Linked DNA regions of Homo sapiens: regions 1, 2, 3, 4, 5 and 6 are each linked to region 7. Evidence: promoter capture Hi-C in 16 types of primary human blood cells and fetal thymus (Javierre and others, 2016). All regions are on one chromosome and are shown on one strand. Each heading gives the region's core, a stretch centred on a gene start or on the middle of the fragment in contact. The rest is flanking DNA. Distances are from core to core; before and after follow the strand shown. Region 1 overlaps USP25 (ubiquitin specific peptidase 25). Region 2 overlaps USP25 (ubiquitin specific peptidase 25). Region 3 overlaps USP25 (ubiquitin specific peptidase 25). Region 4 overlaps USP25 (ubiquitin specific peptidase 25). Region 5 overlaps USP25 (ubiquitin specific peptidase 25). Region 6 overlaps USP25 (ubiquitin specific peptidase 25). Region 7 holds the start of HSPA13 (heat shock protein family A (Hsp70) member 13).

Region 1 (4,015 bases), core at 332-2,831, 1.4 Mb before region 7:
ATTACTCCCCACCCAAAGAGCTCTGTAATGAATCTTTATAAAATGAAGAAATCATCTTAGCAAACAGTTCTTCGTTTTATAAAGAATTATGACTGGCTTCTCTCTTAGAAGGAAGACTAGTCTCTTTCCACAATTCACTTTTCTTAATTCAACTTACACACACAACTTTTTAAGCCATATCTACCTTTACTATCATTCAGAACCAGCCCATTTATCACCTTTCACCATGCCTTTGGTCTTTGCTCTCCCAACACGGAAAAACAGGAATAGGTTGTGGCAGTTGTGTTATCAACTACCATAATTCTTTCAATAACGTGAGTTGGAACACAGAAAATAATAAATAGAACATAAGGGAAAAACAATAAATCAACTCTACTGAGGCTGCTTACAGGCAGATGAATCAGTAGTAAGCAATTTGTCCTTACTTACCAAAATAGCCCCAAATACAAAACAAACTTACTATCATATATTTTTTCAGCCAGCAGTTTCTTAAAGAGCATGTAGGCCAACTTTATATTAACCTCAAAAAAATGTTGAAACTAAAGTCTGGGAAGCTTAAGTAAACTGCTCCAAAGCTGTAGAGTTAAATAGGACTAAACGCAACGCAAAAATCCAGCTGTAAACATTCATAACATCTGTGGCGGGTTGAATAGTAGCCTGCAAAAATATATGTCCACCTAGATCCTCAAAATGTGACACTATTTAGAATAATGGTCTTTGTCAATATAATTAAGGTAAGGATCTTGAGATGAGATCAGCCTGGATTAGGGCTGGGGCTAAATCCAATGGTGAGTGTTCTTGTAAGAAACAGAAAACCAGAAGACAGACAGACACATGAGGGAAAGCCACATGAAGAGGAAGACAGAGATTGGAGCTATGCTGCCTCAAGGCAAGGAACACCAACAGCCACCAGAGTACGGTGGAAGCAAAGGATTCTCCCTCAGAGCCAATGGAGGAAGTGTGGCCCTGCCAACACCTTTACTCTGGACCTCTGCCCTCTAGAACTATTAGAGAATAACCTTTTGTTTTTAACCACTCCATTTGTTGTAATTTGTTACGACTGTCCTTAGGAACTATTGTAACACCTTAAAACAACTTTTCATACTTTTGTATAACTTTAATTCACTTAAACATTACATCCAACAAAAAATAAGGTTTCCTAGCTAACACAATATTTTTCAGAAGTTAATCCCTATCTTTCTTAGAAATCAATCTAAAATTGACAATTATAAAATAAAACAATTAAAGGTATGATTAAAATTGACAGTATCAATTGGGGCCAAGTGTGGTGGCTCATGTCTATAATCCTAGCACTTTGGGAGGCCAAACCAGGAGGATAGCTTGAGCCCAGGAGTTCGAGACCAGGCTTGGCAACATAGGGAGATCCTGTCTCTATAAAAATAAAATAAAATTATTTGCCAGGCGCGGTGGCATGTGCCTGTGGTCTCAGCTACTTGGGAGACTGAGGTCTGGGGAAGGGTTGAGCCCAGGAGGCTGATGCTGCAGTGAGCCATTGTCATACCACTGTACTCTAGCCTAGGTGACAAAACAAAACTGTGTCTCAAAAAAAAACAAACACGGAAAAGAAAAAGAAAAAACTAACAGTATCACATACCAAAGGGTGTCTCAAAAGACTCCTGTGTACTTCAAAAGATGATGTATTTGAAATATTTAGGAAGAAGATACAATGAAAATATAAATTCACTTTTAAAAAAATCATGATGCTTACATTTACAGATTCACTAAATTACTCCTGTAGACTTCAAATTCAAGTGTTTAGGGAACAGAAGAGAATCAAACTTATCAACCTTAATTGATGCACATCTACTTTAAAAGGCCTCTAAAGAAAAAGAATCACTAATTTCAAAAGTTAGTCTACACTGCTAATCTGAAGCAAAAGCATTTATATTGTGGCCTTAACCGCCAGTTGTATCCATTTCAACTCTAACTCAAACTGAAAAGCCCACCTATGTACATACATGGCTCCAGACAAAGTCTATGCTGCCTCATCTTTAAATGTGAAAAGATACCCCAAAATCAACATGAATCTCTAGAAAAGAAAGAAAAAAAAAAAAGAAACCAGAAAAAAGACAAGGAAAAAGCCATCCAGAAGGAAAGATAAGTCAGAGAACAGAAGTAATCTTTTAAAAAATTTAATTGTATACTCAGAATCACTGGAAAAGATACTATGCATACTAAAGAAGAAAAAAAAAAGTAAAACACATTTAGAACCAGAAGGAATGCTGAATGCCCGAAAATGATGGTTTGGAATCAACTGTAAAATTATTTCTCTTTCTTTTGATTTGTGTTAGTGTTACCATGACAGAGCGAGTAAGAAACAAAGCTGAGTAGATACTAAGCCTAAAAGGCACTGGAGCATTGTTAGAATTTTTTTTAAAAATGCAACAACATATAAAAGAAACTCTGATGTGAGTGCCCTTTTTGTTCATTCACATTTGCCATACAAGGTAAATGTAAAGCAGAAACAAAAAGCACAAGGAAGATGGTGAGAGAATCTCAGACCTTCCTCTTCCAAACGCCCTCTCCATACATCACAAAACAGAGACACATCCAAGTATGTACTTTAAAAAACAACGCTGCAAGCTTAGTGGCTTTTTGAAACTTCTGCCATTACACATTGCCGCTATCTTTTTGAACACTTACTATTCTTTGCCACTGTATTTTTTCCTCTGTTTTCCTTCTTTAATTTCTCTGATTTTTCCAATTATATGTGAAAATACTGGTTTGTTTATAGATATTTTGTATTTTTTATAAGAAAATTACCAATATTCTTTTAAGGTAATGGATAAAAATCTACCACAATACACTATATAAAGAATAAAAGACAAAAGCAACAATAACAAAGATAACATCTTTCAAAAACCATTTCTGGGTAATTAAGGAAAAGTACTCCCTGCCAGCAAACACAGGAATATCAAAAGCATGTGTACTATAATGATCCTCTGTTATCACACATTTGTGAACATGTTTAATTATGTATTTGTAAATAATCTTAATTGTATCCATCGTTTTCATTTCAATCATAATATAAATTAAAACTTTATTTTAACACCTTCAAGATCACTTTTCTCTTAAAAGTCTCCCAAATGTTTTAAATGGTTCCAGGTTATTTTTAATAAAGCAGAATCATGCATCTCAAATAGTCTCATATTCTTGGGAAAGGTGCTTAATATTGTTCAGATTAAATACAAATGGTTAATGAACAAGTCAGTGCAACAGAACTACCTGCTGTGAGTCATTTGATTTGAAAGCATCCTTAAGAATTTCAACTGCTCTTGATGGATCAACATACTTCCTTTTGGTACCAACAAGAAGTGCAAATAGATACCTCAGCTCACGCATAAAAGGCAAATTCCGATGTTCCTATTGAAGGAAAAAAACAAAAACAAAAACACCTTAACTGAAGATTAAGAAAATTTTTACTAATAAATATTCATTTTAACAGTAACCAAAAATTAAACTAGCCAATATAGTTTAGGGATGAATTAGCACTCTATCATAATTGAAGAAAGTAGAGTGTTGGTGCCATCTAAGAGACTCAAAGAAGTCCAGCACAAAAAGGCAGAAGACCTAGGATAGGCTCACAATTTCAGCATGAATGCCACATATTCACAGCAAATCATGTCATTACTCAGCCAAGAATATCTTCCTCATTCAAGACTGCTTCTCATAATACTTCCCATTCAGCAAGGCCCAGCTGCTGCTGCTCAGAGCAATAATAACAGCCAACATTCAATGAGTGTTCACTACATGCCAGGCACTGTTCTAAGTGCTTGATCTCAATAAACCCATTTAGCAAAAATCTCCACTCCTCCATGAAGCCTTTCCAGACTCCTTCAAGTCAACGATACCTTCAAATTCCACATCTACTGAAATAAATGCCTTTCACTGAGCAATGAATCACCGACTGTCACTGTGGTGTGACAATCTTAATTATTAGACTAATATTAGAACCTCACCCGATTATTAGAAATTTAATATTTGTTTTTATATT
Region 2 (4,260 bases), core at 474-2,973, 1.4 Mb before region 7:
TACTGTCTTTAAAGTGAGTAATCACACACACACCTGATTTTGCAAAAACCTCTGCATCTACCTGCTAACACTACACTGCTCTAGCTCATGTTCTCTTACCATAAGAAACCTCTAATACTCACTGTCCAAGAATTTCAAGTACATAACACATCCTTCATGTTTGTAAGTCCAAACCAGTCTCTAAATAGCCAGAAAGCAAAGAAGAAGAAAAAATCTCCTGAGTCATGTTTTTCTTGTTAATGTGTAAGCCGGATCTTTCATTTCCCTCAACTGTAATATTCTATGACTTGTCTGAGGAATTTTCCTATAGTATAGTCCTCACAGCTTAAAGGACCTCTGCATGCTAGAGTCCCTACCTCTGTCCCCAGCACTAACTTGCTTTGCTTTCCCCCTGGCATTCCTCTTCCCTCTCTTTCATTCAGGGTCTACAGAACACCATTCTCCTTCATAATGCAAAGGTCTCTGCACATGTAGGTGCCTTCTGTGAGACTCACCACAAATTATAATAATACACTATGGTTAATCACAAGGTAAATCCAAAGACGACAAGAACTCTTAAACTTCAGAAGCACGTGCACTAAAGCACTGCTAGGCACCAAATGTTAATCATTTCAAAGTTATCAATGAGACCATAATTCGTTCATCACTGTACTCCTGGTACATACATATAATGCCTGGCACATGGCAAGCAATCAACATTGACTGAATAAATGAATACAGCAGAGCCTGCAGATGTGAGCTGGAACAAGCCATATCACAAGACAAGCTTATCCCACAGAAAAGAGGCACTAACTAATTATTGGAGATGGGAATGCTGGGGCTCAGGACACACCACCTCCAAATAAGACTGCAGGCGACTAGAATATGCCACCCAAAAATATACTTCTTTGGCATATTTTGAGGTAGTTATTTTGAGAAACTGCGGACACAAGAGTAACCTTGAAAAACTGTCCTTTTGTGAAAAAAAATCCATTTTTAAAGGAAATCTACATTAGAAAAAGTATCTGTATCAGCAAGAGGGTTGCAACAACTTTTATTACTTGAGTGACTTTTTATCTACACAAGACACCCTTTATTCACCATACATTTCCTCCCCCACCCTCTCATAACTTGTGTTGCCACCCCTCCCAGAAGCCCCAAACCCCTATCACTTTTTGTAGCTCTGGATGCTACATAAGCTTCAATCATGTGACCCTTCTTCAAGTCTCTTATTTTGTGGGACTCCTGTAAGTACCTATGTAATTAAAATGGGTTTTCTCCTGTTAATCTGCCTCTTGTCAATTTAATTTCTAGTCCAGCCAAAGAACTTAGAAAGGTAAAGAGAAGCCTTTTTTTTTTTTTCCCTCTCATACAGGAACGAGAAGCATACATATATCAGGCCAACTAATAAGCACATTTTCTAATTCTTCTAAATTGAAGAATTCTTCTAAATGACATAAGTCAGGCCCACTTACTAAGCAAACTTTCTACACTCCTACATTCCATCTAGAATTTCCCAGTTCTGGTCCTGTCAATCTCACTTGAAGGTTTGTATAAAATATAATATTACTGAAATTCCCTATTGCAAATAATCTATATGACAGTCCCATGAATGTGTAAGCAGACAAGGAGGGTCCCCCGGGACTATAGGAATTTAATCAACTTAAGTAACTGGCCTGTTTACAACCTCCTACCTTGCCACCTGTTTTTTCCCAAACCCTGTGAGGAATGAGCTCTCACCTAGTCAGTTGGAGCCAGCTCCTGACAGACCCTCGCAACATGCAGATGAACCCAAGTGAACTTTCCTCATTATCATGCTAAAGTCAGCACCCTGGGGGGGAACTACAGCTTCATTACCATAACACGTGACCTACCTGCTGACATAGTGACTCACTGCATTTGCACCACTGGGACCCCTCCTCTACATGTGATGTCACACCCTCTCCCCTCTCCATCACCCCATAAAACCTCCCTGTCACTTTCCCTAGAGGCAACAATGCCCTAAAGAATACTCCAAGTATTCTCCTTATTTGTGACAAGTAGTAAAACTCCTACTGACCAAAACCTGCATTCTCTTGAAGAGTTGTTTATTACTCACCAGGCAACTAATCCTGGTTTTCAAGTTTTTGGCGGGTAACAAATGGTTCAGGTATGCTGCATATCCTACTGTCACAGATTGAAGTTTTTCTCAATCTTTTTGGATTAACAGCACTTTAGCATTAAAATAAATTACTCATATACCTCTATGGGCACATAAATCTGAAGGTATACCCTTTCCATTAAAGCTTAAAAATGCCAAGAATTCTAAATTTTAAGTCTCTTCCTACTTTTTATAGAATTCCAGAGCTAAAACATTAAGCATTCATGCAATCCAGAAAAAAGAAATGAGATACTTTATGAGAAATAGCTAGCAAAGAACAATGGATATAGTTAGTCCTAGATAAATGATGGTTTCCATCCTCCCTTGCCACAGAGTCCTTTTTCCTACCTGTCACCCAACCTTTCAACCATATCTGCATCATGTTTATGACCCTTAAGAGTATTCCCCATCTGGGCCAGGTGCAGTGGCTCACGCCTGTAATCCCAGCACTTTGGGAGGCCAAGATGGGTGGATCACAAGGTCAGGAGTTCGAGACCAGCCTGGCCAATATGGTGAAACCCAGTCTCTACTAAAAATACAAAAATTAGCCAGGCATGGTGGCAGGCGCCTGTAGTCCCAGCTACTCAGGAGGCTGAGGCAGGAGAATTGCTTGAACCCGGGAGGTGGAGGTTGCAGTGAGTCGAGATCACGCCACTGCACTCCAGCCTGGGCAACAGCGACTCCATCTCAAAAAAAAAGGGTGCAGTGGCTCACGCCTGTAATCCCAACACTTTGCGAGGCCGAGGCAGGCAGATCACCTGAGGTCAGGAGTTCGAGACCATCCTGACCAACATGGTGAAACCCCATCTCTACCAAAAATACAAAATTAGCCAGGCGTGGTGGCGCATGCCTGTAATCCCTGTAATCGGGAGGCTGAGGCAGGAGAATAGCTTGAACCCAGAAGGCGGAGGTTGCAGTGAGCTGAGATTGCACCATTGTACTCCAACCTGCGCAACAAGAGCAAATCTCTGTCTTAAAAAAAATTTTTTTAATTACAATGTAAAAGAGTATTCCCCATCCCTATTAATTAGTAGATAAAATAAATACATCATGAGTAGAAACTCTAAATGTATTTCTCCCAAAAAATACTGTTACTCAGCACTATAAGCTAAGTTCACACAGAGTTACATTTCTAAATAAGAACACACCACCAGGAAACATGGTTTCTATGGGAACATGTATTTTCAGTTCCAAAAACCCAACTTGCAAAATCTTTTGGAACACAGTCTGTTTTTAAATTAGAGTGCCTATATTCTGGAAAACAAGTAGGTAAACAAAACTTTTATGAATCAAATCATATCCTTAAATCACTATGTCTGCAGTTTAAATAAAATATGTATTTAACTTGTTGATGCTAATAATCAGATTCCTATTATAGCTCTCTTGTCCAATTAAATCTTTATGCATCTCTAGTTTCTGTACTTGTTTGCCTAATTAGCTTATAATCCAAAAATAAACTCCCTTATACTAATAAAACAAAATAAACGTGCTCTAAGTAGAACTCTGAAACTGGAATACTATATAATTCCTAGCAGTTATATTTGTCACAATTCTTTAAAGCAAATACAGTTTTTGGTCATGCTAATTACTTATATAATATGTCCTATGGTCTCTTGGAAACTCCATTCATCTAGATACGATAAAGCACATACTCTACACCACTTCAAAAGAGCTACTGGCAGGAATGTCCCAAGCTACAGCACTTCTATAAACTGCTCTGCCATCCAGTGGGCTCCATTCACAACCTCTCCAACAAGAACCCAATCTCTCAGAGTCTTGGGGCTTCTGAAGGGCCTCTCCCAAATTCATTTCTTACTTTAGAGTTCTCTTTACCCTCTAGCAGCCAATCATCTGTTCCTAGTCAATACTTCTTTACACCAAATCTCCTTTGTTCTACTTTTTGTCCTTTCTTTGTCCTCACTGGACCCTGAAACAAATTCCTTGAAAACAATTTCTGTATACTAACAGTGTATTAATAATATAATTCTACAGTTTTAAGAGAAAAAAAGGGCCAGGCGCGGTGGCTCATGCCTGTAATCCAAGCACTTTGGGAGGCGGAGGCGGAGGCGGAGGCAGACGGATCACAAGGTCAGGAGATTGAGACCATCCTGGCTAACACGGTGAAACCCCATCTCTACTAA
Region 3 (4,034 bases), core at 1,510-4,009, 1.4 Mb before region 7:
ACCTTGGTAGTAAGCAATATAAAAAGACGACAAAATGTTTTGCTGCGTCTTTTCCTTCCACACACTACGCTAAATGTTTAAAGCATTTACATATGGTAGATCATCATGTTTCCATTAAATTTTATTACACGGTGGTTTTACTTGGGGGGGGGGTGAGGGGGTGTTATTATTTTATTGTTTTTGTGTTGTTAAATTGCCTATAGCAGTAATACTGAAAATATCCCACTTCATAGCTCACCTAAGCCCCTTTTTGGGAAGTATTACACTCACTGAGAAACATGCATACACTTTAAGCTGTATAGATCAACTACAAAGAAAAAAAAAGGGGGCGGCGGGTAATGAAACATCTCATTTGATTTCCTAAAAAAGCAAAAACAAAACTAACGGTATTTTTAATTGGGATCAAACTAAACCCATAAATCAATTTAAGAAGAACCGACCAGTTTAACAATGGTCTTCCAATTCATGAAACAGCGAATGTTTCAAAATATTTATGTATTCTTTAATGTGTCTTAATGATATTTAATCATTTTCTTCCTGGAAGTTCTTGTACATTTCTTAGATTTACTCCAGTTAACAGTTTTTGTCAAAAATCAGTTGGCTGTAGGTGTGTCCATTTCTGGGCTCTCTATTTTGTTCCACTGGTCTATGTGTCTGTTTTTTACACCAATATCATTGTTTTGGTTACTATATTCTAGCAGTACATTTGGAAGTCAAGTAGTGATGCCTCTACCTTTTGTTCCTTTTGTTCAGGCTTGCTTTGGCTATTTGGGCTCTCTTGTGGTTCCACATGAATTTTTGGGATTGTCTTTTCTAATTCTCTGAAGGGTCACTGGAATTTTTACATGGACTGCAGTAAGTCTGGAGATGACTTCAGGTAGTATGGCCATTTTAACATTAATTCTTCTAATCCATGAACATACGATCTACTTCCATTTGTTTGTGTCTTATATTTCTTTCCTCAATGTTTTATAGCTTTCAGTGTAGAGATCTTTTATCTCTTTGGTTAAGTTTATTCTTAGGTATCTAGATTTTTTGTAGCTCTTGTAAATGAAATTGTTTTCTTATTTTTTCAAATAACTCACCGTTAGCATATAGAAGTGCTGATTTTTGTGTGTTAATTTTGTGTCCTACACTTTTACTGAATTCACTTATGAGTTGTAGCAGTTTTTTGGTGAACTCTTTAGGGCTTTCTATATTTAAGATCATATCATCTGGAAACAGAGACAATTTTACTTTCTCCTTTCCAATTTTGATGTCTTTTATTTCTTTCCCCTGCCTAACTGCTCTAAGACTTCCAGTACTATGTTGAATAGGATTGGTGGAAGTGGGCATCTTTGTTAGGTTCTTGATCTTAGTGGAAAAGCTTTCATTTTTTTCTGCATTCAGTATACTACTAGCTGTGGGTTTCTCAACTATGGTCTTTACCGTGTTGAGGTACATACTTTCTATATCTATTTTGAGAGTTTTTATCATGAAGGGATGTTAAACTTTGTAATGTGCTTTTTTCTGTATCTACTGAAATTATATGGTTTCCGTTCTCTTTGTTACTGTGATGTATCGCATTTATTGATTTGTGTATGTTGAACCATCCCTCCATCTCTGGGATGAATCTCGATCATAGTGGATGATGTTTTTAATATGCCGTTGAATCGGACGTGCTAGAATCTTGTTGAGAATTTCTGCATCTAGGTTGATCAGGGATATTGGCCTGTTTCTTTTTGTTGTGTCCTTGTCTAGTTTTTGAATCAGGGTAATGCTGGCCTCATAAAATGAGTTTGGAAGTATTCCCTCCTCTTTAATTTTCTGGAATAGTTTGAGAATTAATATTAGTTGTTCCTTAAATGTTTGACACACTTCAGCAATGTAGCCATCAGAAACTAGGGATCTTTATGTCAGGCTTTAGCAGTTATTCAATTCTCCCACTCGTTGTGGTCTGCTTATTTTTTCCATTTCTTCTCAATTTAATCTTGGTAGGTTGTGTGTGTTCAAGAATTTATCCATTTTTCCTATATTCTAGAATTTGTTGGTATACAGTTGTTCATAATAGTCTCTTGTGATCCTCCAATTCTGTGATACATTTGTAATGTTTCATTTTTCATGTCTGGTTTTATTTATTCGAGTCTTTTTTTTTTTCCTTTTTTCTTAGTCTAGCTAAAGGTTTGTTGATTCTGTTTATCTTCTCAAAAAAATTTCACTGATCTTTTGAATTGCTCTTTTAGTCTCTATTTGTTTACTTCTGCTCTAAGCTTTATTATTTCCATCCTACCAATTTTGGGTTTAATTTGTTCTTGCTTTTCAGGTTTCTCTGAGTTGCACAGTTAATCTGTTTATTAGAAATCTTTCCTCATTTCTGATGCAGGCATTTATTGCCATGAACTTCTAGAACAGGTTTCACTGTGTCCCACAGGTTTTTGTATGTGTTTCCACGCTCCTTTGTCCCAGGGAACTTTCTAATTACCCTTTTAATTTCTTCACTGACCCATTGGTTATTAAGGTGCATATTAACTTCCATGTATTTGTTGGTTTCTAACGTTTTTCTTGTTGTTGATTTCTAGCTTTATATAGTTGTGATCTGGTAAAATACTTGATACCATCTCTAACATACGATCTTTACTGGAGAATATTCCATGCACAGTTGAAAAGAATGTGTATTCTGCGGCTGTTCATGTTCTGTAAATGTCCATGGTGTAGTTTAAGTCTCATGTTTCTAAATCATTTGTCTACTGTTAAAAGTGGGATGCTGAAGTCCCTACTATTGTTGTACTGGAGTCTATTTCCCCCTTTAAATCTAATAATATTTGCTTTATATATTTGGATGTTCTGGTGTTCGGTGCTTATATATTTACAGTTTTGCTTCTTGGTGAATTGATTATTTTATTATTACATAATGACTTTGTCTCTTTTTACAGTTTTTGACTTAAAGTCTATTGTATCTAGTACAAGTATGGCTGCTTCTGCTCATTTTTGGTTTGAATTTGCATGGGATATCTTTGTCCATTCCTTCACTTTCAGTCTATGTTTATATTTAATGATGAGGTGTGTCTCTTGTAGGCAACATACAGTTGGGTCTTTTTTTTTTTCAATCCATCCAGCTGCTCTATATTTTTTAATTGGGGAATTTAATCCACTTACATTCAAGGTTACTACTGATAAGTAATAATTTACTCATGCTAGTTTGTTTTCTCAATATTATGAAGATTCCTCGTTTGATTCTTTCCCTCTTGTTTACTTCTGTGGTTTGGTGGTTTTCTATAATGCTAAGCTTTGTTTCCTTTCTTGTTTGTCTATCTACTATAATTTTTCTTGTGGTTACCATGGAGCTAACATGAAGAGTCTTACAGTTACAACAGACTATTTTAAGCTAATAACAACTTAACTTTGGTCACACAAAAATAATCTAGACTTTTTCCCCTCACTCCCCTACCCCACCATGATTAGTGTTTTGATTGCTGTAATTTACATCTTTATCTTTTTTTTTTTGAAACAGAGTTTCGCTCTTGTTGCCCAAGCTGGAGTCCAATGGCGTGATCTCGGCTCACCACAACCTCCACCTCCCGGGTTCAAGCAATTCTCCTGTCTCAGCCACCCGAGTAGCTTGGATTACAGGCATGCACCACCATGCTCAGCTAATTTTGTATTTTTAGTGGAGACGGGGTTTCTCCACGTTCATCAGGCTGGTCTCAAACTCCTGACCTCAGATGATCCGCCAGCCTCAGCCTCCGAAAGTGCTGGCATTACAGGCGTGAGCCACCACGCCCAGCCACATCTTTATCTTTCATGTGTTCCTTAGCCACTAATTGTAGCTGTTGATATTTCTGACATTTTTAACTTTAAACCTTCATATTAGAGGACGGAAGGAATTACACAGCACCATTACAGCACTGGGGTATTCTGAATATGATTATGGATTTACCTATATTGATGAGTTTTGTATTTTCACATATTTTCATGGTATTAATCATTCTTTCATTTCCTATTATTTCCTCTAAGTGTTTTTGTAGGACCAGTCCAGTGGTGATGAATTCCATCAC
Region 4 (4,269 bases), core at 984-3,483, 1.4 Mb before region 7:
TCATTTTCTATTTCTGTCCTCCAGCGATGTAAACAACTTTCCAGCACAGAAAGTTCTTCCTCCGTTATGTGCCTTGGTGCCGGATGCATGGGCAAATCTGGAGGTATCCGGGACTGAGTAAATGGTTTGTGTATTACTGATCTCGATGAAATGGCAGCAACTGATGAAGGTGATGTGCTTGGCAGTTCTGAAGATAGGGCTCCCTGTTGTTCTGTTGTGCTGTATCAAAGCATAGAGTATTTCTTATTAACCTTTCAAGCTGAAACTCTTGACAAAGATCGTGCCAAACCCACAGTATTAAATTGGCTTGTAATTCAAAAGAAAAAATCTTAAAGAAATATGTGGATTGATCTAACATCCAAATGAGATTTTTAATACATAAGAACTAAATTATTATAAGATGAAGTTGTAGCTTTAGAGTTAAAACAGCTTAATCATATTTATTTCTAAAAAACAAGAAAATCTTACGCATGGTGATATTATTTTCCCTGGCTTATCAGCTTACATTACAGAAACAAATTCTAATTTGATAGTACTATTTTTATGGATCATAAAATGCTGAATCTTATATATGTACATACCAAAACATGCTAAAGTATAATTCTGAACTGAAAAAAAATGTGATTAAAATTTTAATCCATAACCATAAAATCTACTGAAATAATAAAAAAACTCCCAGAGGACATACAGTCTTCTAAGTGAATCTACTCTTAGGAGTTCACTGAAGTAAATCAAAGCATACATTTTATAGAAACTGTCTTTAAAGGCAGCAGTTACATTATTGTGTAATAAAGGTAACAACTGTCTCTTGCATCAGGATTACTTTTTACCTTGGTAATGTCTGTGATGGTATGGAACCACTAGGTGGGGAACTAGCGTCAATATCGTCAACAGGAGAAGTGCAAACAGGTTTACTTGAGGCAAATTCCAATGCATACTGAAGAACATCTACCAAGGGGAATCGTTTGGGACCGGAACCATAGCTTAAATATCTGTTAATCATAAAATGTACAAATGCTTTTATTTCTATATACAGCATATTTGGGCCTTTATTATTATTATAAAACGTGATACGATACTTCAATAAAACTTCCTCAGCAATAAAATTCATTTGCTTTAAAACGAAGATGGTAAAACTGAATATACACTTAAGAAAAACATTAAAAGTTCCCCAAAGACAGGAAACCAAGGCCGATTGGGACTGAATGTGAGTATATACTGTTATAATCTGTAAATGCTGTTCTAAATTGTAACTCAATAGGAAGATGAAAACTGACATCTCCTGAGACTGTTTTTATTTTTAGATCTGGCATCTGGTCTCATGATCAAGACAGTGATGTGTACTATCCTCCTATCTTTTACCACTAATCATGTTTCAATATGATTATTCATACTTTTTAAGAATAAAAATCATTAAAATACAATATACTATTTGATGTAAGAAGTTTTAGACTACTAATTTGAAAATTCCTAAAATAGGGGAATGCAGAGCAGATTGGGGTTTGCAAACTGAAATGACTTGTGACATTTCAGCCTTTAGATTTCTGTCTGGCCTGTAGAACATTTCTCAGTCCAGATTCTGACGTCTTTTAGAAATGATCCAAATCAATAGACAACAGTGAGGCCATACTCATACATGGTACCATCCACTGGTATGGAATGGCATTCATTCCCTGTACACACAGATTGCTCTCTAGGCTCCCGGCACATACCATCTTACACCTGACACAATTTCCTCCTTTACGAAGCTGCTGAGAAGACTTGGTAGGCAGCTGAGTTTGTATCCTGTTTTAAGGAGAAAAACTCAGATACCATTCATTTTAATGAAAATCTCAAGAGTAATCTTTAGTTTCATGCAAAAAGGAAGGTCAAAACTATATTCATTTAACTTTGTATCTATTTTCAGCAGTAGGAACATTACCTGTTGACAATGAGATATTTAATTTTAAACACTAGAATAATTTTTTAAAGTCTACTATAGATTTTTAGTTTCAAGCAAAACTCAAAACTATTCACACAATATTAACTACTCCTAAAATTATAAATCACTCAAAGCAAATTTGAAATTAAAAATCTAGTCACCAAATACATGGTTTCTGATAATTATCTCCTAATTTCATAAAAGTTAAAATACCTTTCTAGCCTTTGTTGTAATACCGTGAGGTAATCTTTCAGTCTCTTGATCTCTTCCCTCTTAATTCTTGTTATTTCTCTGTTTCTGTGCATGTATCTATCAGAAAAAGGTAATCATTAGCATTTCCGAATATCATGAAAGTAGATGCAATATGGCCAGATGCCAGCGTACCCGGCCTACCACTCTGGGACGCCAAGGCGGGAGGATCACCTGAGGTCAGGAGTTCAAGACCAGCCTGGCCAACATGGTGAAATCTCGTCTCTACTAAAATACAAAAATTAGCCAGCCACGATGGTGGGTGTCTGTAATCCCAGCTACTCGGGAAGCTGAGACAGGAGAATCATTTGAACCCAGGAGATGGTGTTTGCAGTGAGCCAAGATCGCACCACTGCACTCCAGCCTGGGCGACAGAGCAAGACTCTGTCTCAAAACAAAAAAGAAGGAAAGACAGAAAGATAGACAGAAAGACAGACAGAAAAAAACAAAAGAAAGAAAGACAGGAAAACAGGAAGACAGAAAGACAGGAAGACAGAGAGACAGAAAGAAAGACAGAAAGATAGATAGATACAATATTAAGTACAGACATCACCACAAAGCATCAATTCATTCAAAATTGTATAAGATGTAAGGTAGATAATACAAAATGGTATTTTTTAAAATTCTGAATTTTAAGATTACAAAATTCATCTTTTTTAAATTTCCTTATAACATTATTCCCAAAAACTATACTTTTCTAATACAAAGTAAATTTCATCTACCTTGACAAATGGTATTAGGTATATTATGCAAAAGTAGAAATTAATTCTAAGAAAATTATGCAGAATTTTCCTCTAAACAATATTTTCTCCCTTACTAAACTGTTTCAAACTAAGTCATGCAGTATATCAAACCATACCTGTCCAAATATAAAACTTGGGGAAATTCTAATTTGTTGTGAATTTTTTCTGGTCTTCCCAATGCCTGATTAAATTCAAATCTTGACAATTCAAATGTTAACACAGGTGGTAATTCAGTAAACCAATGCTGAAAGGAAATAAAACAATAACAAAAACTTTAATACCACCTTTGTTTTCTTCACTGCAATCTTAGGCACAGGATGTGGGCACTGACATTGTTATATGTATCACCACAATGCGGACCTGACAAGTAACTGGGTACACAGTTTAGTTAAAACTCAACCTCTTTCTAAAAGTTTTCCACACCTCTTGAAAATTCCAAGAGTGGGTATAATATATGATCAGGAAAAAAAGAAATCTCACAACTATCCTTCGAAAATAATTCTTTACATTAGAATTTCTAGCCCAAAGAAAAAGACACTGGTTAAAACCATGACTTAGTAGCTCAAGTCTTCTCTGTCTTCTTCAACGTGATGTTGAATGGCACTTATACTTAACCAAAGCATCAAAATCCTGTGATAAAATAACTTATGAGAGGGAGTACTCAAAAAAAAATTTATATCATAAATCGTCACAACTCTCATACTAAAAATGAAAAAATGGTGTTTTCCTGTTTTAGCTTTAGCTCCTCTGCTGGATTTCATACTAATTTATGAAAAAGACATATCACTAACAAAAAGTTAATACTTAGAGTAATTTACTTAAAATCTTTTAAAATAACTAGTGTTTAAAGAATTGAATGTCTCATTGCTATGAGCCAAATTCTGATAATGAGTATAGCCGTAATTTCCTTCCCCTACCCCCAGCCCCTAATCCCCATACATGCTTTGGTAACTGTTCAATTAAGCATGAAATTCAACATTTTTAAAAGAAAATTATTTTCATATACAACCTCAAATTATACATAAGCATATGTATTTAAAGAGAAAGAAAGATTGTATGTAAATCAACAAAGAACAGAAGTATAAAATAGTTCTGAAGTGCTTATTATAAACTGCAATATGCGAAACTGCTGCATAATCTATTGTGTGTGATAATTTCAAGTGTCACAAAATGCCACCACACATCTGTCAATAAGTTAAGAATATACCAAATTTAAATTTGAACATCCAAAAAAAGCATGAATGGCACACATCTGGCAAACTGAATCTGAGGAGGATCTGGAAAGTTGCTACTTTTCTCTACAGCAAATAAAAGCAAATGGTATTCAATACTATTTCTCTTTCAAAATGCTATAAT
Region 5 (4,111 bases), core at 587-3,086, 1.5 Mb before region 7:
AATATTTTAAAGCCAAAGTTGACAAAAAATAATTTTGTGCACAAAAAAATCCCACAAGCACATGTACAAGTACCTATGTAAGTGCTCTCTCACACACAACACTGTCTCATGACAAACATATATGGCATATAGGGACTAAAATGAATTAACTTCCCCAAAATATATCTGATGAATCAAAGTGAAGGAAAAAATACAGCCCACAGGGTACAGTTGCACAGTGTAGTGCAACAGTTAAGAATGTAGGTTCTATTAGCCAAGCTGTAAACTTGTGGCTGTGAAAACCTTAGGCAGGTTACTTCACTGCTCTATGCCTTATTTTCTCGTGTGTCAAATGGGAATAAGAACACTACCTATCTTACAGTGTTACTGTCTGAATTAAATCAGTTAATATATGTAAAGGGCTTAGACAAATGCCTGGCATATAGTAGGGTCTTGATAAATATTACTTGTTGGTATTATGTAACAGCAATTTCTAAGTTGATTTCAAAATTAACAATGCATTTGTTATTCTGTTTTTAAGCTAGAAAAGTTCATTTAAAAAGTACTTGAGAATTAGTATTGAAATAAAAAACCAAAAATCTTCCTTTTTTGATTTTAAACTTTTTGGTCTACATGCTATCATATCATGTTAATCCTAAAATCACATATAAAATTATTAATTACTTGAGCATTGACTTGGAAACTTAATTTTTTTACTCATCATTCATAACAAATTCAACTTCAGTTGGGCTGAAACGAAAGGAATATCAGTGAATTACAGAATCCCTAAATCTGTAGTTTAACCTCTAAGAAAGCACATTACCTCATATTCCTCCAAGTTTACTTCTTCAGGTTTTATCATTTCCAGTTTGGCTTGAGCAACTTTCATTATGTTGTGACACCTTAAAAAAAAACACATACATATGAGCGTGTGTGTATGTGTGTGTATATATATATATATATATTTGTAAATCAAAAGCAAAATCCATAAACACTGAGCAAAAACAGCAGTACTTTTGTATAGAAACAACTCCTAAATAACCTTAAGTGAAAAACATTTTTGGGACCAATGTTGGGGAATTACAAAGAAGACAGGAGCAATAATTCTAATTCAAATTTACTGTGTTGTATTGATATATGGCTTTTAAATTACATTCTAATTAACACAGTTTGCATAGGAAAAAAATGAAACTTTTAAAAAATAATGTGCATCTATTAAGCAAGCTCAAGAGACACTGCATCTTCTTTTCCCCCCACATGGTATTATTTATTCTTAAATACTAAAGAGTCTAAAACGTGCCTATCATCTCAGGTAAAAATGGAAACATCCCACTGGATTTTATGATCAGAATCAGTGATAAAGAAATCCTCACGAAATGTATTTATTCACATGTGCATAACTCTGTCTTTCAAGCACAAGTCAGGTTATCAAAACAGATTAACTAGTTATAGTCAGAGAACTGCAAAAGACTGAAAAGTCAATGTGATTACTCCATTAATATCTTCTCCAAATTAAACAGCATAGATCCAATGGAACTCAGTACACTGATAGCACAGATAACGAGGGTCACAACAACCCTGTTTCTGAACTCTCTGCAGTCGCATGTATCAAAATAAATGATGTCCACACTGCTACTAATATAAACAGTAGTGGCCAACATTCACTGAGCATTCAACCACCTATCAGATATTGTTCACAACTATTTATTTGTATTATGCACAGAATCCTACATTTCACGGCACATATCTAATAAGGTAGGATCAATCCAGATGCTTTGCCTCCCCTCATATTCTTTGCTATACACTTTTAACTCAGTATTTTTGAGACACTCATAAAAGGATGATCATTTCAGAATTAAAATTACAATGAACTGCAACAGCATAAATGTTTTTATATATGAAAATAACTTTCAATACTCTAAAATTTCACATGGGCCCTGAAATTATTTTCTAGTGTCACTCATTCTAATTAAATTGTGATTTTTAACATTAGTAGTTTAATAGGACTTTCTGAATAATTCTTTATAAAACTACTAATATAATCTAGAGAAAACATTCTCTGGAAATATTCTATAGAATATTTTCTATATTCTACAGAAATTCTACAGAAATTTCTATAGAATATTTTCTCTTTCCAGAGAAAATATGTCTGCGTGAATCTAATTTAACCCTTCTAAGCCTCCTCTTTATGTCAAAGAATGTTTAATTATTTTATCTGCAAGACTGAAAACTTTTCTCCAGTGATTCTCTAATAAGGGTGACTTTGCTCCCCTAGGAGTTATTTGGCAATACCTGGAGATATTTTGGTATGCCACAACTTGGGAGCTGCTACTGTCATCTAACGAAGAGATGAGGGATATTATTAAATATCCTACAATCATAGGACAGCCCCAACAACAAAGATTTATCTAATTTAAACTGTCTATATAGTACAGAGGTTGAGAAGCCCATTTTTGTTTCTAAAATATTGAGTGTAATAAGTGCAGTGATTACTTGATTCACAATTAAAATTTATTAAAATGATCTAAGTTATTTTCAGTTCAAACTTCAAAAGGCCACAGACTCCAGCAACTAGTCACATTGAGTTCAAATTTTGTTACGTATTTATTAAAATATGTGCCCATGCATATATAAAATAAATACTCAAAAAATTATCCTGGGAATCTGCAGGAAAAAAAAAAAGAACGATTTGAGCATATGAATTTTATACTTTCAAATTACCTTTCATCAAAACTCAAATTTCTATCTCCAAATTGTTCTAGTAATGTTTTCTCAATAATTTTCTTTGGTGCCTGGTTCTGGATAAAGTAGACCACTACATGATGTAAACGATAATCGGTTTCTGGTGGGGTGTCTTCTTGGGCCAACTTAACCAACCTTGCATATTCCAACTTAATTGCCTGGAAAATGCAATGAAAATGATAATTTTGGTTAATTATTTGAACACCAAAAAATCCTTCAATATTATGAGTTTAATTCTTCTTGCATTTAAATCTTTTTTTTTTTTTTGGCTTTTAAAGTATCACAAACAAGGCAGTACAACTAAGAACACAGTCCCATGTTCCATAGACTCAAGGAATTTTCTGAATAACTGACCACAAAGGCCCTTCTTTTAAAAAAAAAAAAAAAAAAAAAAGAAGTCTCCCACTCTCCCCCAGGATGGATTGCAGTGGCGTGATCTCGGCTCACTGCAACCTCCACCTCTCAGGTTCAAGTGAATCTCCTGCCTCAGCCTCCCAAGTAGCTGGGATTACAGGCGCCCACCACCACGCCCAGCTAAATTTTTTGTATTTTTAGTAGAGATGGGGTTTCACTATGTTGGCCAGGCTGGTCTCAAACTCCTGACCTCATAATCCGCCCGCCTTGGCCTCCCAAAGTGCTGGGATTACAGGCGTGAGCCACGTGCCTGGCCACAAAGGCCCTTCTTTATCCCTTCACTATATAAACGTTCTTTTTGCTTCCACACATGAAAGCGGTAAAATATGTCTAAACTTACAATGTGAGTAATTCTGTAAAATTTATCAGAGCCTAGTCAAAGTCTATTCACAGACATCATAAGATGGAGATGGTAAGTTTTCCCGTTCTGTTTTACCTTTCTAAGCATCAGTTTGAACACTAAAATTCTAGAGTTGATATATAGCTCCCAACAATACTCAAATCTGAAAGAAAATTGTTCTTAAATGCATAGTCGTATTATTGCAATTAACTTTTAGCTGAATAGCCCACAAATAAGGAATGCAACATCAAGCCCCGGGGTTATAATTATCACAAAAAGAAGTATTTATTGCTCCAACAGTACGTACATTTTATTAATGTAAGAATAATAATGATAATATATTATCACTATTATTACCTTAAGGTTTAAACTTAGTTTTTCTTTATAAACAAAAATACCTCATAATATACAAATAATAATGGGAAATAACAAATACTAATGCATGTTTTAATATACAAGCAAAATCTAGAAAATATCTGACCATATAGAAATATGTATAGATTTACACATATTGTACATATTGCTATGTACAAGAGGACCATATGATTAAGATAAAGCTTTTTATATTCATTTATATTATACTTATATGTAAATTCTAGCTCTAATAAGCATAAACATTTTGGGCTTCAGGCAAGA
Region 6 (4,014 bases), core at 593-3,092, 1.5 Mb before region 7:
AATTCAAAGAAATAAAATATTTTAAGAAGTTTAATTTTGAAAAAGAAAAGACACGAAAATGAAAATGTTCATTGTACCTTAAAGAACCCTGCTTCAGGGCCACACCTGTCATATACACTCCTGGATTTACCTATCGCCATGATAATACCTTGCATGTTCGGTGTCATCATGATCTGCCACAGAAGATAGTTAACATTAAAAAAAGGTTTTTAAACTAAAATAATTTATTCACATGCAAGCTGAAACTCTTTTGTTTTCCATATTTATAAATCAAATGTTGCACTTTTAATACCAAATTTAATCCAATATGCATGTAAGCACCTTTTAAGATCATCCATACAGGGCACAGCTGGCTCATACGGAGCCTTTGTGCAAACTGCAAAAAGGCATCCTCTCTGAATTGGAGAATTTGAAAAAGGCACCCTGCTTCTAGACAAACAAATTAGAAAAATGTGCTATCCTCTGAGTGAACTATTTAGAAAAAGCAACATCCCTTTTTACCAATTAAAAAAGGTACCTCTTCCTCAAGCCTCAGAGAGCTCATCATGAACTCAATTTGCTTCCCACTTCTGCCCCTTGTCTAGTCATCCTTGCAGAACTGTACAACCTGCACATCCCTGAACAGCAGCCCTGTATCCATAACAACTCATTTTTAAAAGTTCCAATGCACATGCACTGTTAAACTGTCACTGCAATAAATTTTAAAAAACGACAAAACACACAACTCTGTCACATAAGCACTTGCAAAAAAGATAGTGTTAAATGATTAATCACAATTCAACTTTTTTAAATGAGAGAGGGCACATCCTAAAACAAGTACTTAACTGCTTAATCAATAAATTGATAGGTTTATTAAAAACATGCCAGTTCCCATAATTTTCAAGAGCCAGCATGTTTATAAAATAGTTAACTAGAACAATGTAGAGCCATTAAGTACAAATACTTAAGCATTTTTTTTGTTTTCATAATAGCTTATTATTTTTAGCTGTTTACATTTTAAAATATCTGCAAAGTGAAATTACTCAAAGCCCTATGAAGCTATCTTACAGAAATCAAGAGATTGCCTCCGTCACCTCTGATTCACTGAACCTATTACTCATTGTATTTACTTTGGATTATATACTGAGAATTGCAATATATCTAACACCTGCTTGAGAAAACTCTCTGACCAGTTTATCTCACAAATCTGCTTATTCTCTTTATGGCGTGTGATTTCTTACACTGGTACAGTGATATGTCTTTATGACACTTCTGACTTTGGTGATTAACTCTAGCATGATAGTAACATTGGAGTAAGTCAGAAAAAAAGTTACGTGAAAAAAAACTTAACATAAATGCAATTCTTATACAAACCCACAAAAACTAGAATCCAACAAGCATTTTTCCAAATCACCCCCCTCCCCCACTACCCAATAGTTACGGCCTCCTCTGTGTTCCTGTTCAAAAACAGCTTTACTGGCCGTTCCTCAAAAAGAGTAATATTAAGTGTCTCAAGAGAAAAGTGGAAAAGGGGAGAAAATCATCTGATAGAATAAGACAATAGATCATTTTCATCTGGATTCCAAAGAACTAAATCATGAAAAACAAAAATGCCTCCATACTGTTGGAAAACTAAGTAAATGAGAATTAACAGTGAAGAGATAAGAATAAACATGGAGGTCCTATTAACGGTAGGCACTCAGTAACGGTGATGACTTACTCCACTCACAGTCACATGGAGAGGCTGTAGAAGCAAAAATATCAATTATCCATCCTGCAATCATGCTGTGGGATTTTCTGGCAGGAGATAGTGGGAAAAGGATTATAAGTAATTCCAGTAAAACAAGAATGGAATATAAAAAATTATTTTTAAATGCAAAAAATTTTTGTACTAATTAAACAAATCTTATTGTAATCTGCCAACCTGGAAGTAAACTGGTACTATTTCTGCATAAAAGAATTAACTCCACAAACAGAAAATTCTTTTGACAAATTCCATAAGTTTTCTACTTAAATTTTCATTTGAAATTCAAAGTTCTGTTAATAATTGGTAAAGTAATTTTGGACTATGAGGGGGCAAAGCTGTATGTTATGTGGCAATAGACATTAAGTATGAGGGTGCAGGCATGCCCAAAGTATTTGTATTAAATAGCAAAAGTTAAGTAGCAATGGTGCAGAGGGCTGTAAAAGGTACCTCGTCATCATACCCCCCCTCCTTTGATTCAATCATAAATTTCCCTACATGAGGGATCGCCACCTCTACAACTCGCTGATTAGAAAGTGGTTGGCTTGTAGTATTTTCAGGTTTCTGCAGAAGGAAATCATTAATATAAACATTAGAAAAGAGAACAGTGGAGAACAATGGCATCCTTGCACAACTGTATAACCTGCACATCCCTAAGCAGCAGCCCTGTATCCATATGACTTATTTTTAAAAGTTCCAACGCACATGCACTATTAAACTGTTTAAGCACATACTCTTAAATCTTTTAAAAATACCTGCATTGACTTGGTATCAAATGAAACCACTTAAAACTGAACATCAGAAGCAAATGCATTCATCAAGTAGTAATACAAAATCTGCAGTTTTCCCTTTACATCCTCAAACTGGGTATTACCAATATCATTACATTTTTCCCTGAAAGTATTTAGAACTTTAAGTACTTAAGATAAAAAATAGTGGAGTTGTATTTTCTATTATTGTCTGTATAGCTGACAATTTTTTAAAAAGTCCAATAGCTCCCAAAAACCTTTCTTGATATCTCAACCAAAATAAGATATGACCTCCTCTAAACTCATCAGAATTTGTAGGGTTTTTTTCCTTATAATTTTATCCTTCTATTGTTTTTGGTAATCAATTGTGTATCCAGTTAATATCCATATTCTATTTTGTTTAACTTATTATATACAGCCTATGAGGCTCCAGTATATTTATATCTTAAGTGTTCAACAAACACCTGCTGAAAATAAGAAAAAGCTGTTGGAAGCTGATACCCATTTTTAACAACTCAATCAGATTTATTCCTTTTTTTCTTTTTATTGTTAACAAATTCTATGTATTTCAGTAATCTACACTAATACAGAAGTCAGTGTAAAATTCAGAAAATTTCATTCAAAACTTCATGACACTAATATGATTCATTCAAAATACCATACAGATGTTTACATACTTATTTATCTTATTCAACATATTTATAACTAGCATATCCACTATTTACCTATTAAAAAAGCCAAAAGTACTGAAGGTGCTTGAAAACAACTTAAGTAACTGAATTGCATAAGTTTTCATACACAAAGATAAACTTTTGTTTTGATATTACAAAAAACATTTTTATAACAGCAATTAAAGAGGTTTCATTTCCATTAGAAATATGGGTAAATTTTAGCAATGTGAACATTTCCTGGCTTCCTGGAAGCATATATAGAAAAAGAGTTTAACTGAACAATAAAACAAAACAAAACCAATAGCTGCAACTGGTACTGCCCCTTTTAAAATAAACACTATTTTTGGCATGGCGTGGTAGCTTAGACCTATAATCCCAGCAGTTTGGGAGGTCAAGATGGGCGTATCACTTGAGGTCAGTAGCTGGAGATCAGCCTAGCCAACATGGCGAAATCCGTCCCTACTAAATATACAAAGATTAGCCAGGCATGGTGGCACATGCCTGTAATCCCAGCTACTTGGGAAGCTGAGGCATGAGAATTGCTTGAACCTGGGAGGCGGAGGTTGCAGAGAGCTGAGACTGCACCACTGCACTCCAGCCTGGGTTACAGAGTAAGACTCTGTCTCAAAAAAAAAAAAAAAAAAAAAATATATATATATATATATATATATATATATATATATACACACACACACACACATATATCAAAATCCACAACTTATCCTTAATTTATCAAAATCCACAACTTTTCAACAGGAAATGATCAGCATGAACAGGTATCATGATCATGAGAGATAATATGCAGCTAAGCCAACACCAGGTATGTAACGGCTGTTCTATAAAATGACAGCTATGAGTCATTGTACTACTT
Region 7 (4,265 bases), core at 436-2,935:
TGGTTTAAGACACTAAATTTGTGGTAATTTGTTAAGGCAGAAATAGAAAATGAATACAACCTATTTAGTTCAATCTTAATTCTAAAGGCCTTCTACTCTGAGATCACATAATCTTTACCTGCTTCTTGAACAAATCAGGATCTTGTTAGCAAGGAGAAAGGAGTGAGTGGCAGGGAGAATCCCAATGACCAGTGCTTGTCACAGACGGCTAATCTTAATCTGGTTTAAGTCTCTAGTTCTGTCTCTCAGAATTCTACCTCATGCTTTATGATCCACCACTTTCTAATCTATGGAATAGATGATCTCTTGCTTCTGTGCTCTTGGTAATTGAGTTCCGTCTGCCTGGAACACCTCCAGCCCACTGCCCATTACAAGTAATACTTAAGAACTAAGTGCTTGAATTCTTCACTCCTTATAAGAATCTTATTGAACAGCACTCACTATAGACACACACTTTTTATATTTCGCATTATGAAATACTTAAAAATGCGCAAAAGTAGAGAGAACATTACAATGGATCCCTATCAACCAGAATTCAGCTTCCATAATCAAAATTCACATTGATAAGTCAGAAATAACCAGCAATGTATTCCCACAGCAGGCTGACGTGTTGTCAACAGGGATGGTTTGATTTATATCTAAGCTGAGAAAATGGATTCAATTCTCCAGGATCTTAGTTATCGTGAACTCTAACAGCAAAAATGACAAAACCACTCTCAGAGGAGTCATTAAGTGCTACCAGTGACCAAGATGCGAGAAAAATCCTACTTCAGACTAGAACCTGAACAGCATGTCACAAGCGTCCTAAAATGGCTGTCACGTTACAGGACTTGCCCATAAGGTCAATTTTGGCCACTTAAGACTTACTTGAAGAGAGAGCTAAGGGTTTTCTTTTTAATTTCGTTTTTGTTTTTGTTTTTAATGGCCCACGTCAGTGCTAGCAATAGAGAAAATGTGTCCCTGATCCCTTGGATAAATCGAATTGACTGAAGAATGCTTGAATTCATTTATCCCAAAACAAAGGCAGACGGCTGAGGGTCACTGGAGTTTCAGGGCTGCTCCCAGCGTTGGAGCACGGACGCCAGAGCCGACTTCCCTCAGGCCCCGCACTGCGGCAGGGACCCTTCTACGGAGGATGGCTGGGGCTCCGGGAGGCTATAGGAACGCCATCTAGAAGCTAGATCTCAGGCAAACGAACGCGCTTTAAAAGGAATTAAAACGAAAGAACACAAACTCGAATCCTGGACCTGATTAGGGGCACGACCAAAGAAAGAAATAACTAACGGTTCTCACCCTCCCTTTCATTCCCTCCCGCGGAAAGAGAAAGGCTGGAACTCCGCTTCCCAGAATGCAAAGCGCGGGGCGGGGCTAAAGAGATAGCCTGTTTTCCCTCAAGTAGGATCGCGGGACCACAGGTTTGATTATAAACGCCAGTCTCTCGCCACGGCGCTCCTCCCCCTCAGTCTCACTGGTCCTGCCGGCCGTTGCGTGGAAGGGGGACTCAGTCGTCACTGGCAGCGGTTGAATGGAGGCTCTTTGCCCCGCGCCCTCACGGTAGATGAAGTCCTTGCTTTGGTCAGAGCGATAGCTTCTCCGATTGCCTCAGAGCAAGCGGACTACATTTCCCAGGGGGCTGCGGGACTGCCGGGAGGAGTGGGGGCGGTGCCTCACGTCTGGTACAGTCATCACAAGCCTGTTCGGCGGGACTGTGATGGCCAGAGAGATGACGATCTTAGGTGGGTTCCCGGGGGTCCTTGTTGCTCTTGCGGGCGTAGAGGCGATCTGAGGATGCCAGAGTGGGCAGGGGTGGTTGACTCACCTCCTGGATCTAGCTGGAGCAGCGGAAGGGGAGTCAGAAAGGTGACTTAGAGACGGTTTTCGGCTGTTCGGAGTGGATGGGGGCGGGGACGCCTCTAGGAGGGCCCCGGCCCCTGCAGGCCAAGGTAGGATAGACGGCGACCAGCTGTGTCCATCCCAGGGACATCAGGCTTAGGGAGGCGTTCCTTTCAACAGCACCTAGGTTTTTGAATTGCCTGTTGAATTGGGGCAAGCTATGGAAGGCTGCGAGAACGTGCACCTCCAGGACCCCTTTGTGGAGGAAGGGGGAGGAGCTACATCCGGATCTGTCGGCTCAGGGATGCTGAATTTGGAGGCTTTTTCCATCACATCGGGTTTGGAATTACCTATCCCCCACCCACACACACACCCACCCCGCGTCTCCAAGGTGATGAAATGCTTCTGAAATGTTGCCTGTAGCTGGAAGTGGAAAGTGGGATTCGCACTTGGTTTTATTTCTTTGAGTTATGTGTTGATGAGGATGAGCTAACAATTAGTAACACAGAGCCCTGAAAATTCATGTTTTGGGTCATATGTAATATGAGCGGACACAGGTGTATAACACAGCCTCCTGATACCAAATACGAGATTCATTAAAAACTAAAGGGGCATCTTTCTTCGCTTATGTTTACAATCTGCGTGGCATTTGTTCCTACTCTTTTTTCTTTTTTTTTTAAATTAGTATTTGTTGGGCATCTGCTATTCCTGGTCTGGGGGATACAACAGTGAACGAAACTTGTCTTCAAGAAGCTTTCATAGATGTTGCCGTCAGGGTTGCCCACCTTTATGCTTCTTCTCCCCTAAATATTACCACTGCAAGAAGGAAGTCCCTAGTTCATACTTAAATACATAAAAAGTTAACTGTGTTCTGTTTTGAAGTGACAGTTTCATATCTAAGGAACTTTCAAAATCATTTTATCCCATTTATTCATTTCATCCTTTTGAAAGGGAAAAGGAGGTGAGATACGAGGAGAGAATTTTAGACTTATAAAATAATAAAGTTTTTCTTGTGAGAATTTTAATAATGGAGCTTTTAAAAAAAGATAATCGAAGCTTTTTATAAAGCTGTAAAATCTAAATATCAATTGATCAAGAATATTAGATTATATCTGGCTTTTGCTCCAGATAAATGTTGTTTCTTGTCAGCATCTGCACAAATATTATTGAAATATTTTTACATTTTATTACATTTATTAGAGAATGACACAAACATACAGTTATAGGGTTTTTTGTTGTTTGTGTTTACTTCATTTTAAATTTTATTATAACCAGTTTACATTTTGAAAAACTTGCTGTCTGAGAGGAGTGCTATCAGCAGTCCTATAAAAAATTTTGAAATTTGTCTTTTTTAGCCTTGTTTCAACGAGTGATATTAAAGGGACTTTGCTACAGTAATTTAGTACATTGTACTAGTTTGATAAAATACATCTTTTAATTTTCCTTTATTTCAGGATCGGCTGTTTTGACTCTCCTGTTGGCCGGCTATTTGGCACAACAGTATTTACCATTGCCTACTCCTAAAGTGATTGGTATTGATCTTGGCACCACCTATTGTTCTGTTGGGGTGTTTTTTCCTGGCACAGGAAAAGTAAAGGTGATTCCAGATGAAAATGGGCATATCAGCATACCCAGCATGGTGTCTTTTACTGACAATGATGTATATGTGGGATATGAAAGCGTAGAGCTGGCAGATTCAAATCCTCAAAACACAATATATGATGCCAAAAGATTCATAGGCAAGATTTTTACCGCAGAAGAGTTGGAGGCTGAAATTGGCAGATACCCATTTAAGGTAAGTGATTAATCTAAAATCTATATTAATTTTAGTGTACTCTTTTAGTTAATGCTTTGGCTTCATGTCACAAAACATTCTATCTCGTCTAGTTTTATCTATTAATACATGAAAGTTCTGTTATCTCACATAACCAGAAATTCCACAGCAGCTATAGGATCAGTTAATCACTGACTCCATAATGCTAACAGGTACTTAAGGCCTTGCCATTTTCTTGCTGTCCCATCCTCAGCATGTCTTGCTTAGCTCTTTCAAGGTAGCAGGAAGGTTGATGAAGCCCTGTGTACCATAGATAGATATTCTGTGTGTGTATGTGTACATATTTATATACATATAAAGAGAACATACCAGGTGTGCTATTTTTTGCTATTTAATATGTCATGGATAATTAATAGGATCATGTCATTATCTTTAATGATTTTGTGGAATGACTATTCCATTATTAATTAGACTAGTCTCTATCAGTGTACTTTTTTGTGGTTTTTCACTAATGTTGGAGATTCCGGTAATATCCTTACTTATCTTTGTACACTTCTCTGAAAGTTTCCTAACTTGAATGCTAGAAGTCTAATTGATAGGTCAAATGTGTACGTTTTTAAGGCTTTTGATTTATTTTTCTGGTTTGCTCACCAGAAAG

The links. Contacts are between HindIII fragments. The CHiCAGO score rates a contact against its expected background, and 5 or more counts as called.
Region 1: a fragment that was not itself captured here is called in contact with the fragment with the promoter of HSPA13 in region 7 in 1 of 17 cell types (M0 macrophages); the score reaches 5.5 in M0 macrophages.
Region 2: a contact is called between a fragment that was not itself captured here and the fragment with the promoter of HSPA13 in region 7, in 4 of 17 cell types (non-activated CD4 T cells, naive CD8 T cells, fetal thymus and 1 more). The highest score is 6.2, in non-activated CD4 T cells.
Region 3: a contact is called between a fragment that was not itself captured here and the fragment with the promoter of HSPA13 in region 7, in 1 of 17 cell types (total CD8 T cells). The highest score is 5.7, in total CD8 T cells.
Region 4: a contact is called between a fragment that was not itself captured here and the fragment with the promoter of HSPA13 in region 7, in 1 of 17 cell types (naive CD4 T cells). The highest score is 5.3, in naive CD4 T cells.
Region 5: a contact is called between a fragment that was not itself captured here and the fragment with the promoter of HSPA13 in region 7, in 1 of 17 cell types (M2 macrophages). The highest score is 5.3, in M2 macrophages.
Region 6: a fragment that was not itself captured here is called in contact with the fragment with the promoter of HSPA13 in region 7 in 1 of 17 cell types (naive CD8 T cells); the score reaches 5.6 in naive CD8 T cells.

The regions. Positions count from the first base shown.
Region 1 is chr21:15,804,490-15,808,504 of GRCh38, reverse strand. It overlaps USP25 (ubiquitin specific peptidase 25), which reads right to left. Exons shown (of 26, transcript NM_001283041.3): 7 at 3,247-3,384. Among named protein-coding and RNA genes, the nearest start is that of USP25, 77 kb to the right of the region's middle. The HindIII fragment of the contact is 2,050 bases long and covers 557-2,606 here.
Region 2 is chr21:15,750,786-15,755,045 of GRCh38, reverse strand. The region is part of intron 1 of USP25 (ubiquitin specific peptidase 25); the gene reads right to left. Among named protein-coding and RNA genes, the nearest start is that of USP25, 23 kb to the right of the region's middle. RefSeq lists enhancers at 1,682-1,976, 1,478-2,103. The HindIII fragment of the contact is 1,086 bases long and covers 1,181-2,266 here.
Region 3 is chr21:15,784,022-15,788,055 of GRCh38, reverse strand. All of the region lies in intron 4 of USP25 (ubiquitin specific peptidase 25), which reads right to left. Among named protein-coding and RNA genes, the nearest start is that of USP25, 56 kb to the right of the region's middle. The HindIII fragment of the contact is 1,016 bases long and covers 2,252-3,267 here.
Region 4 is chr21:15,822,927-15,827,195 of GRCh38, reverse strand. It overlaps USP25 (ubiquitin specific peptidase 25), which reads right to left. Exons shown (of 26, transcript NM_001283041.3): 11 at 3,030-3,157; 12 at 2,135-2,230; 13 at 831-992; 14 at 1-219. Among named protein-coding and RNA genes, the nearest start is that of USP25, 95 kb to the right of the region's middle. The HindIII fragment of the contact is 6,839 bases long and covers 1-4,269 here.
Region 5 is chr21:15,863,036-15,867,146 of GRCh38, reverse strand. It overlaps USP25 (ubiquitin specific peptidase 25), which reads right to left. Exons shown (of 26, transcript NM_001283041.3): 21 at 2,701-2,879; 22 at 803-881. Among named protein-coding and RNA genes, the nearest start is that of USP25, 140 kb to the right of the region's middle. The HindIII fragment of the contact is 4,397 bases long and covers 1-4,034 here.
Region 6 is chr21:15,845,936-15,849,949 of GRCh38, reverse strand. USP25 (ubiquitin specific peptidase 25) reads right to left here. Exons shown (of 26, transcript NM_001283041.3): 19 at 2,174-2,287; 20 at 78-173. Among named protein-coding and RNA genes, the nearest start is that of USP25, 120 kb to the right of the region's middle. The HindIII fragment of the contact is 8,895 bases long and covers 1-4,014 here.
Region 7 is chr21:14,380,566-14,384,830 of GRCh38, reverse strand. It overlaps HSPA13 (heat shock protein family A (Hsp70) member 13), which reads left to right and starts at 1,685. Exons shown (of 5, transcript NM_006948.5): 1 at 1,685-1,736; 2 at 3,288-3,628. The coding sequence starts at 1,712. LOC105369304 (a long non-coding RNA gene) reads right to left here and starts at 2,065. Exons shown (of 2, transcript XR_007067924.1): 1 at 1-2,065. RefSeq lists enhancers at 1,149-1,278, 1,669-1,978. The HindIII fragment of the contact is 7,322 bases long and covers 1-2,588 here.